Linked DNA regions of Homo sapiens: region 2 is linked to region 1. The links are contacts of gene promoters, found by promoter capture Hi-C in blood cells and fetal thymus (Javierre and others, 2016). All regions are on one chromosome and are shown on one strand. Each heading gives the region's core, a stretch centred on a gene start or on the middle of the fragment in contact. The rest is flanking DNA. Distances are from core to core; before and after follow the strand shown.

Region 1 (4,677 bases), core at 893-3,392:
GGCTAAGACGGTGAATCCCCGTCTCTACTAAAAATACAAAAAATTAGCCGGACATGGTGGCGGGCGCCTGTAGTTTCAGCTACTCGGGAGACTGAAGCAGGAGAATGGCGTGAACCCGAGAGGCGGAGCTTGCAGTGAGCTGAGATCGCGCCACTGCACTCCAGCCTGGGCGACAGAGCGAGACTCCGTCTCAAAAAAAAAAGAAAAAGAAAAAGAAAAAAAAAAAAACCTTGCTACACTAAGTTCCTGAGGGCCAAGGAAAGCCATTTAGATCTTTGGGTTTCATTTGCTTCACTTAAGCATCTTTATTTTTGCACTTGAACGTCTGGCAGAGCATTTTGATGATGATGATGCACAAATACTACGAATAAATGGATGCGTGACTAGCTAAATAGAACACAAGATTTTGAAAGACTTGAGTCAAAAACAGTAGGCAAATCAAAGAAGCAATCCCAAACAGATGCTATCTTTCAGAAATTAACAGATTATTTCACCTGCAACATATTCCCATCCTAGAAAGGGCATTCCTGCATTACAATCATTTATGCTTGGATAAAGGCAAAACGAACAGATGTCCAAGAACCACCCTCATTACCTGAGGCCTATGGCAGAAACATGTCTCCTTTCTTGGAGTCTGAGTAGACTTGATCAAAATCACCCACAGGTATAAATTCACATTATAATATCACACACCAAAGCCTCAGTGAATATCTTTATCTTGGACAAACATATGATCCATTCACTTAAAGGTGAAATCATGTGGTTGAACAAAGTATACTGCAATTCTGCTAAACTCATTTAGAAGCTGGCTCAAGGCCGGGTGCGGTGGCTCACGCCTGTAATCCCAGCACTTTGGGAGGCAGAGGCGGGCGGATCACTTGAGGTCAGGAGTTACAGACCAGCCTGGCCAACATGGCGAAACCCCGTCTCTACTAAAAATACAAAAAGTAGCCGGGCGTGGTGGCGCGTGCCTGTAATTCCAGCTACTCGGGAGGCTGAGGCAGGAGAATCGCTTCAACAGGGGAGGCGGAGGTCGCGGTAAGCCGAGATCGTGCCATTGCACGCCAGCCTGGGCAACAAGAGCGAAACTCTGTCTCAAAAAAAAAAAAAAAAAAAAGAAAAGAAAAAAGAATCTGGCTCAATATAGCTGTCCTCTGATAAAGCCCTGTGGCTCTCCTCCATCCCTTCGAACACACTCCTCCTTCCATTTCAGGCCCCAAGGCCTGTTCTGCAACTAATCTGACATCTTTCCATTACTTTGGAAGCCTAGGGCTCCACCACACCCTATCCCAACCAGATTTCTACCCTCCTACCAACAAACGTGCATGAGTTGACATACCAAACCAACTCTTAGGGCCAAACTAATCCTGTTCCCCCCAATTCTCGGAAACTCAAGCGTCCTAACAAATCTTAAGAGTCTGATGAGTCCATTCCTTTCCCTTGGAACGTCTGGCCCTTGCGTTGACCCCTCGGCTTCCATGGTCACAACTAGCTCTGGTTCTCCTGGCCCCTTCCTATCCCTCTCTTCGGGGCCTCTGCCAGAGCTCACACTGAACCTGTTTCCTCATCTGTAGGACCCTTGGAGGTTGGGAGGAGGCCTATATGACCCCCCCAATCCAACTCCGGATCTAACATTGAAGGGGCCCAGCATTCCCCTAGACCCTCACTCTTTCTCTTGCCCACGCCCCAAACTCCTTCTCCATCTAGGCTACCACCTCGCCCACGCGCCTAGCATCACCCGCCGCGGCCCAAGCTCCCCCAGCCCCTGCTTCCGGGCTTTCCTTGCAGTTCTGCTTCCGGCCCTCGGCCCTTCCCACAGCGGGGCGCCCCCGGCCCGCGCCCGGCCCCCGAGCCGCTCGCTCCCGGGCTCTCACCGCTCGAAGAGCAGCCTCACGAAGAAGATGCCCGCCGCCAGCGGGAACACCGAGAGGATGTGCCGGCCGCGGGGGTAACCGTAGCCGTCGGCCGGCCCCTCCAGATCAGCCCAGCTCACGTTCTCGGGTAGCCAGAAGCGCTCGCTCCACAGCCAGCCCCACAGCAAGCTTAGGGGTCCCTGCGCTGCTGTCGCCATCTTACGCCCACCCCGAAGCCACCGCCGCCACAAGCGTCAGCTGCCGCCACAGCCAACGGAACCCGCGGGGAGGCGGCCCCAGGGCGGGGCCCGGCCGGCGGCCACCCCCTTCCGGCCCCTTCTGGTCACTGCCACGGATCCGCCCGCCTCCCTGGCAGGGCCGGGCCTCTTCACCGCCCATCTCTCCTCCCGGCCCACTTCCCTCACTGCAACCCGGGGACCGCCTCCGGGGATCCACGCCCCTTCCCGAGCCTCTGACTCGCCCAGCCCGGCCCTGGGACCACGCCTCGGGCGGCCCTGGGCCCGCCCTCTTTTGCTGCTGGTCTAGGCCACGCTTCTACTCCTCCCTCACTCTTCCATCCAGCTACGGCCACACCCCTTATTTCAGGCCTAGCTCCTTTACGGGGACATTCTCCTTTCTCAGCCTGTTGGAATCGAATCCGTTCCGGCTCCCACCCAGGCGGTACCTCTGTCTCCACTCCCGGAGGCCAGATCGATCTCTCAGGTCAGGGCTTCTCTTGGATGTCAGCTGGTCCTGCCCACTACTGTCCGCCACTAGAGTTCTTTTCGCTCCCAACCTTTTCTTCCCTTCGTGCCCCGTGACCTCAGCCTACTTTCACTGCTTTATCCCTTAAAAATTAGTCACTTTTCCTCAGAAAAAATGGACTTAACAGTTTACAAAAGGCCGGGCGCGGTGGCTCACGCCTGTAATCCCAGCACTTTCAGAGGCCGAGGCTGGCGGATCACCTGAGGTCAGGAGTTCGAGACCAGCCTGGCCAACATGGCAAAACCCCGTCTCTACTAAAAATACAAAAATTAGCTGGGCCTGGTGGCGCTGTGCCTGTAATCCCAGCTACTCGGAAAGCTGGGACAGGAGAATCGCTTGAACCTGGGAGGCGGAGGTCGCAGTGAGCCGAAATCGCGCCATTGCACTCCAGCCTGGGCGACAGACCAAAGACTCCGTCCCAAAATAAAAATAAAAAAAGTTTACAAAAATCCTTTTATTCTTCTCTTGGGGAAAAGGAAATGGAAGAAAAACAAAGTGAAAAGGGAAGCACTCAAAAAGTATACGTAAAGGCAGGCCGGGTGTGGTGGCTCACGCCTGTAATCCCAGCACGTTGGAAGGCCAAGGCGGAAGAATCACCTGAGGTAAGGAGTTCGAGACCAGGCTGGCCATGGTGAAACCCCGTCCCTACTAAAAATACAAAAATTACCCGGGTGTGGTGGTGCATGCCTGTAATCCTAGCTACTCGGGAGGCTGAGGCAGGAGAATTGCTTGAGGCGGAGATCACAGTGAGCCGAGACCACGCCATTGCCCTCCAGCCTAGGCAACAGAGCGTCTCAAAACAAAAACAAACAAAAAAAGGCCGGGCGCGGCTCACGCCTGTAATCCCAACACTTTGGGAGGCCGAGGCGGGCGGATCATGAGGTCAGGAGATCGAGACCATCCTGGCTAACACGGTGAAACCCCATCTCTATTAAAATACAAAAAATTAGCCAGGCATGGTGGCGGGCGCCTGTAGTCCCAGCTACTTGGGAGGCTCAGGCAGGAGAATGGCGTGAACCCGGGAGGCGGAGCTTGCAGTGAGCCCAGATTGCGCCACTACACTCCAGCCTGGGCGACAAAGTGAGACTCGTCTCAAAAAAAAAAAAAAAAAAAGTATATCTAAAGGACCTAAAGGCAAAACAAAATAAATAGCCAATGTTTGATGAGGTTTCCTGTGTGCCAGGCACTGCATGGAACATTTTACACAGGTTATTTCACTCCTTCACCCTATAAAGTTGATCTTGTTATCCCCACTGGATAAGTAAACTGAGGTCCAGTGAGGCCAAACAACTTGCCCAAAGTTATGTAGGTAAGAAGTGGTAGCTAGTGTTAAGTCAAGTTTAATCTAAAGCTGCCTCCTTACATATTTAAGTTCGGCCTAAAGGTTTTCTGTACATTGTGAACTGTAACAAGTGGAGGTGTAAATCGAACGTAGACCACACCAGTGCCAATCACTGAATTTTGGCCAATCAAATGTAGCCAACTGTTCCAACCACGTTCAAATGAGACAAACGCTGATCTGTAACCAATCTGGTTGTTTCTGTACCTCACTTTCATTTTGCTGTCCATAAATCTTCCACCACGTGAATATGCTGGGTCTCTGTGGATATGCTGGGTCTCTCTGAATCTGCTGTGATTCAGGGGCTGCCCAATTTGAGAATCATACATTGCTCAAACTCCTTTAGGCTGGGCACGGTGGCTCACGCCTGTAATCCTAGCACTTTGGGAGGCCGAGGCAGGCGGATCACAGGTCAGGAGATCGAGACCATCCTGGCTAACATGGTGAAACTCCGTCTCTACTAAAAATACAAAAATTAGCTGGGCGTGGTGGTGCGTGTCTGTAGTCCCAGTTACTTGGGAAGCTGAGGCAAGAGAATCGCTTGAACCCAGGAGGCGGAGGTTGCAGTGAGCTGAGATAGCACCACTGCACTCTATCCTGGGCAACGGAGTGAGACTTTGTCTTGGAAAGAAAAAACAAAACAAACAAACAAACAAAAAACTCCTTTAAATTTGGCTGTTTTGTTTGTTTGCATGTTTTTTTGTGAGAAGGAGTCTCACA
Region 2 (4,677 bases), core at 588-3,087, 100 kb before region 1:
TGCTTTCTAGGCTCCCCTCAATCCCCTTGATACATAATCACATTACCTCTGTTTTACAAATGCACGAAACTGAGACACAGGCAGAATGATTTACCCAAGCTCACACAGTTAGTGACAGGTGACAGGTTCAGGATTAGAACTCATGTCTTGTTAAGCTGAAAATGTCCTTTACTCTTTTAATTAATATTGTGGACCCTGGGGTTATTGTGTCCACTTCAAATTCTTGCCAGTCTTTTCCAGGACCCTTTGCTCTCCATGCCTACTCAGCTCTTGGATTCTCTTCCTTCTTCCTGCCTATTTTCTCCCCGCTTGCTTGCTTCCTCCTGCAGTATGGGAATATGAACTGTATTTGTGCAGAAAGGATGGCACCATAGTCATGCTTAGTGTTTCTAGCTGTGCAAGACCTCCCAATATCCTTAAGCCTTGCTCTGCAGACCAGTTTCACTGGCCTTTGTCAATCCTGCTGGACAAAGTTCACATGACTGCACTCTTTGCTGAGCCAAGCTGATGGGGAGCTTAGCCAAGATGCAAGAACCACTTCCTTCCCTCTCTTACTGCTTCATAACAGGAGAGTCCTGGATTCCCCAGAGCTTGAGACCAGAGGGTTTGCAGTCTCACAAGTGATGCTCCCAAGAGTAACAGGACTGTAGGTGAAGGTGGAAGCAAAAGCCAGAGCCGCCTCCCTCCAACACACCCAACACACAAGCAGGAGGGACCCGTGAGAAAGATGGAGAAAACGTATTTGTTTGAGTGGTTTGTAGTGTTGGATGAGGGAGAGAAGTGCTTGGCTCAATCTGAGGAGGTGCTAAGATATAAATTTGGGCACAGTTAGTCCATAGAAAGTATTCAGTTGAGGCTCCATCTGTCCATCATGTCCAGAAAGATTCCAAGTGGTGATGCTAAGATAACATTTGGTTGATGGTAATGGAGACACTGAGATGTGATTGGTCCATGCTGTCTGAGGGGACCATTCTAAGTAGTCAGATGGAGATGTGATTGGCTCACAAAGTTCTGGAGCAGTCTGAATTATTCCTCTTACTCAGGGGTAAAGACACACAGGCTAGCACCCTGCAGCCCCAGCTGTGCCCCTTCTTGCTTCTGGGTTGTCAGGGAAGACCAGGTTTTTGCTGTTTTGCAGCCCATGTCAAAGACCTGACCCTGAATTTTGCTGGACTCAAACCTCTCACTCCTCCCTCTGCTCTCTTCAGTTGGTTTCATTGCCAGCCCCTCTCCATGTCAAGAGCTCTACCCATAGGGATGTTCCCACACAGATGGGCGTCTGGCTGGAGTCCATGTCTGACACCTCCCCGGTGGAGAAGGGCCTGGCAGTCTCTCTCCTCCAGCTCCCCAGTCCTAAGGGCTCCCACACTCCTTGCCTGATACTCCATGCTCTCCCTTCTCTCCTCAGTCTTGTGATTAACATCCTTGCCATTCTCTGCTAGGCCAAGAGGTGTGTTGGGAGTGTGTCTCTAGCCCTGGGCAGATGTAGCACTGACAGGAAACACCTGTCTATAGGGTCGATCTAAGGGAGACCATCTTGGCATCTTCTGCAGCCTTCAGAGCAGAGGTTCTTCACTGAGGAAAGAAGGTAGTCAGGGAAGAGAGGCTTTGTGGTTAGGGCTTTGCTTGCTCTTTCAGTAGCTCAGGAAGAAGCTGCTGGGCCCCATCCAACAGGATTGCTGTGGGATACCACCCCCCACTGTCCAAGACCTTGCTCAATGCTTTTGCAAAGTATAGCGTGCGGGGGCACGTGTGGACTCTTTTGTAGATTTCTAAGGGCAACCCTCTTCTCAACAATAAGAACCCTGTTTCTCAAGGCTGGTTGGGGGAGGCATAAGAAGACAATTCAGGGAGGCTACTCTGGTCACTCAAAGACCCCAGCTCCCCTGATGAGGATCTGCAGTAACAGGCATTTCTCCAGATGTGCTCCTGGATCTAGCTCAACCCCAGGGAATAGTTGGTGGTCACAAAGCATTTGGCCAGGGTCCATCCCCCAGGTGTGGCTGAGTCAGCTTGGGAGGGTGGGGGTGAATATGGGGAGCCTGAGCTGAATCTGGGAGAGACTGGTTTGGAAATCCTTCGGGACTGAAGAGGGAGAAGGGCAGGGCAGGGAGTATCCCCACAGCAACCTGGCTGGGAAGGTTTCAATAGCTGCCTCCTGAGCAACCACAGTGACCCAACCACAAGGCCCCCTCTTCCCGGCCACCTCCTTTTCTTCCTGGTAGGGTGTGTTGTTGCCAAGACAATGGGGTCCATGGCTCCTCTCTCCTGCCCCACCTTGAGGCCAGCCAGGCCAAGGCAGGGCAGGGATTCCATGGAGGGGGGCTGGGGTGCAGCTGTCTGCTGGTGTCTGGGTGGGGGCCAGAGAAGTGAGCACAGTCGCAGCTGGTGCCATCCTCCAGCTGCACCTTATCTGTCCCTGGCAGTGGGAGCAGCTGATGTGGCCAGAATGCTGAGCAGCAGCAAGGGGAGGGGGCTGGCAGATGGTCACCCAGTCTGCCCTATGCCACCCCCTCCTCCGCTGAGACCTAGACCCTTTGCCTAGCGGAGAGAGAAGCAGGAATTCATTTCTGGGGCCTGGAAGAGAAGGAAGAGGAGGACAGAGTGGAAATGCTGGGGTGGACATGTGGTGTGACTCATAATCTCTCTCAGGAGGGTGAAATTGGGGGACAGGAATCCCTGGGAGGGGTCCACAGGAGTCCTTCTCAGGACCCTGGATTGGAGACCAGAATCTCCCAGGGAAGAGGTGGAGTGAATGGGGATGAGCACAGAAGCCTCCCCTGCAATCCACTGCTAGGTTCTGAAGGGGCCCGGGCATCCCCTGGAGCACCTAGGGAAGTAAGATGCTGCAATGAGAGGTGGCTGTGGGCGCCTGATCCTGGGACCCAAAGTGGGGAGAGAGAAGTCATCTTAAAGCAGGAGAGCCAGGGATGGCAGTGCCCAGCAAGAGCCAGGACTAGCATGGAGTTTATTCATCCCTAGGGCTCACCCCTCATCCCCACACCCCATGCTGCCCCATAGAAGCTCAGACCAGAAGTCCCTTGGGAGGGCCTGACCTTACTACTGGGGTCTGCACCCTCCAGCTAGGCAGGGAGTGGAGGGGCTGCTGAAGGGAAAGGCTGCCCAGACTGCCATGCAGACAGGGGAAGGGGAATCTTGGGCAGCCCCACCCAGAGGCCTGGTGGTCTTCATGGGTGGGAAGGGGGAACATGCACAGATTGCAGAGGGATAGAAGAGGCCGACCTGGAGACAGTAACTTTAGAGGAGGGGTTCATGGGGTTCATGAACTTTGGGGGAAGGGTTCCTGCCCTAGGGGTTCATGGCTACCACCTCCTGCCTTATCCTTCTCATCTGTCCCTCTCTCCTAGGAAGTGCCTAAACTGAACACAGGTGGGTGGAGAGAGGAGATGGGAGCAGAGCCCATTGCAGTTGCAGGAATCCAGTGGGTGGTCCCTGGGTTGGGGTCTCAGATGTCTCCTTTTGCCTCTCTCTCAGACACAGATACACACAAACATCCTTCAGGTAGCCCAATTTCCTCTCTCACCTCTTCCCCTTCTCCCCAGACCCCAGCCATTTCTGACTCCATCCCTCTCTCAGACAGCTATCAGCTAAGAACTACTCTAAGCTAATTGACCTGGGGGCTGTTGGCTAAAGCAATAGGGAATTCAGTAACTAAGTGCCTCTGGGGGCCAAGCCTGGAAGTGGAGGGCTGGGGAGGAGCACCTCTAAGTCTTGGGACTTTGTCACTGCCCAGCTGGTGGAGAACTCCTGGATATGGCCACTGCATGCCCAGTGTGTCCTGGAGGCAGAAGGGCAGGCCCACAGAGAGGCTTGGAATGTTCTGCTGTGGATGGAGGTTGCTTCTGAGTGTGTTTCAGTTTTGTGGAAAGTAATTTCAATTCTCTGGGGATAGCGAGGGAGACAGAATATTCAGAATGAGAAGCTGGGATTAGGGGAGCGTTAAGCTCCACTGGATTCATTCCCATAGCAGACAGTGCCACTTCCATGTGCCAGGTCCTGCGCTGGGGCAGTTAAGTGCAGCACGGAAGGTTCAGGGCTGAGAGCCATGGGGGTGGTACTAAAGGGGGCCCAGTGGGGTGGGCTTCAGAACAAGGGGGAACATGCTGGGGATGAGCAGACTCTCAACATCCAGGGGGAGTCCTCCCAATCTCCCCAGCCAAACTCAGCCTCTCGGAAAATGCCAGGTTCATAGAATATGTTGGTGTCTCCCCAGCTAACTAAATCAACCGGCCAATTCTCTCCGGCCATTCTTCCGCCTTGGCCAACCCCTGCCCACCCCCACCCCCAAGCTTTCCCTCACTTGTATGTTTGGGGTGGCCAATGCAGAAGCCTCTACCTTCTGACCTATAACGTCCCAGTCAGGACCCTTAGGTGTGCATTCTGGGAGGCAAAGCTGGAAGGAGACAGCGAGAATGAGAAGGGGTGCCTAGCTGGGTGGAGGATAGGACTGGGCATTAGGGCTCCTGGTCTCTATTTTGGGCAAAGTTCCACCTGGCCCCACTTCTTAGCTTCTAAGCCCAATCTCCTGTAAGGAGGTTGTAAAATTATTCTTTATTGAGGGGCAGTCCTTCCTCTGGGACTCTTTGGCCAAGCCCACGGTGCCCCATGTGTAATGGATGTGCAGCGCCAACCTACCTGGACACAGGAATTGGACAT

The links. Contacts are between HindIII fragments. The CHiCAGO score rates a contact against its expected background, and 5 or more counts as called.
Region 2: a fragment that was not itself captured here is called in contact with the fragment with the promoter of CERS5 in region 1 in 1 of 17 cell types (total B cells); the score reaches 5.7 in total B cells.

What each region holds. Positions count from the first base shown.
Region 1 is chr12:50,165,227-50,169,903 of GRCh38, forward strand. It overlaps CERS5 (ceramide synthase 5), which reads right to left and starts at 2,143. Exons shown (of 10, transcript NM_147190.5): 1 at 1,875-2,143. The coding sequence starts at 2,071. It overlaps LOC124902931 (a long non-coding RNA gene), which reads left to right. Exons shown (of 2, transcript XR_007063304.1): 2 at 1-397. RefSeq lists enhancers at 1,490-1,629, 2,520-2,679, 2,731-3,492 and silencers at 1,770-1,919, 2,020-2,419. The HindIII fragment of the contact is 9,101 bases long and covers 2,041-4,677 here.
Region 2 is chr12:50,060,882-50,065,558 of GRCh38, forward strand. The region is part of intron 3 of ASIC1 (acid sensing ion channel subunit 1); the gene reads left to right. Among named protein-coding and RNA genes, the nearest start is that of ASIC1, 5.6 kb to the left of the region's middle. The HindIII fragment of the contact is 4,941 bases long and covers 1-4,308 here.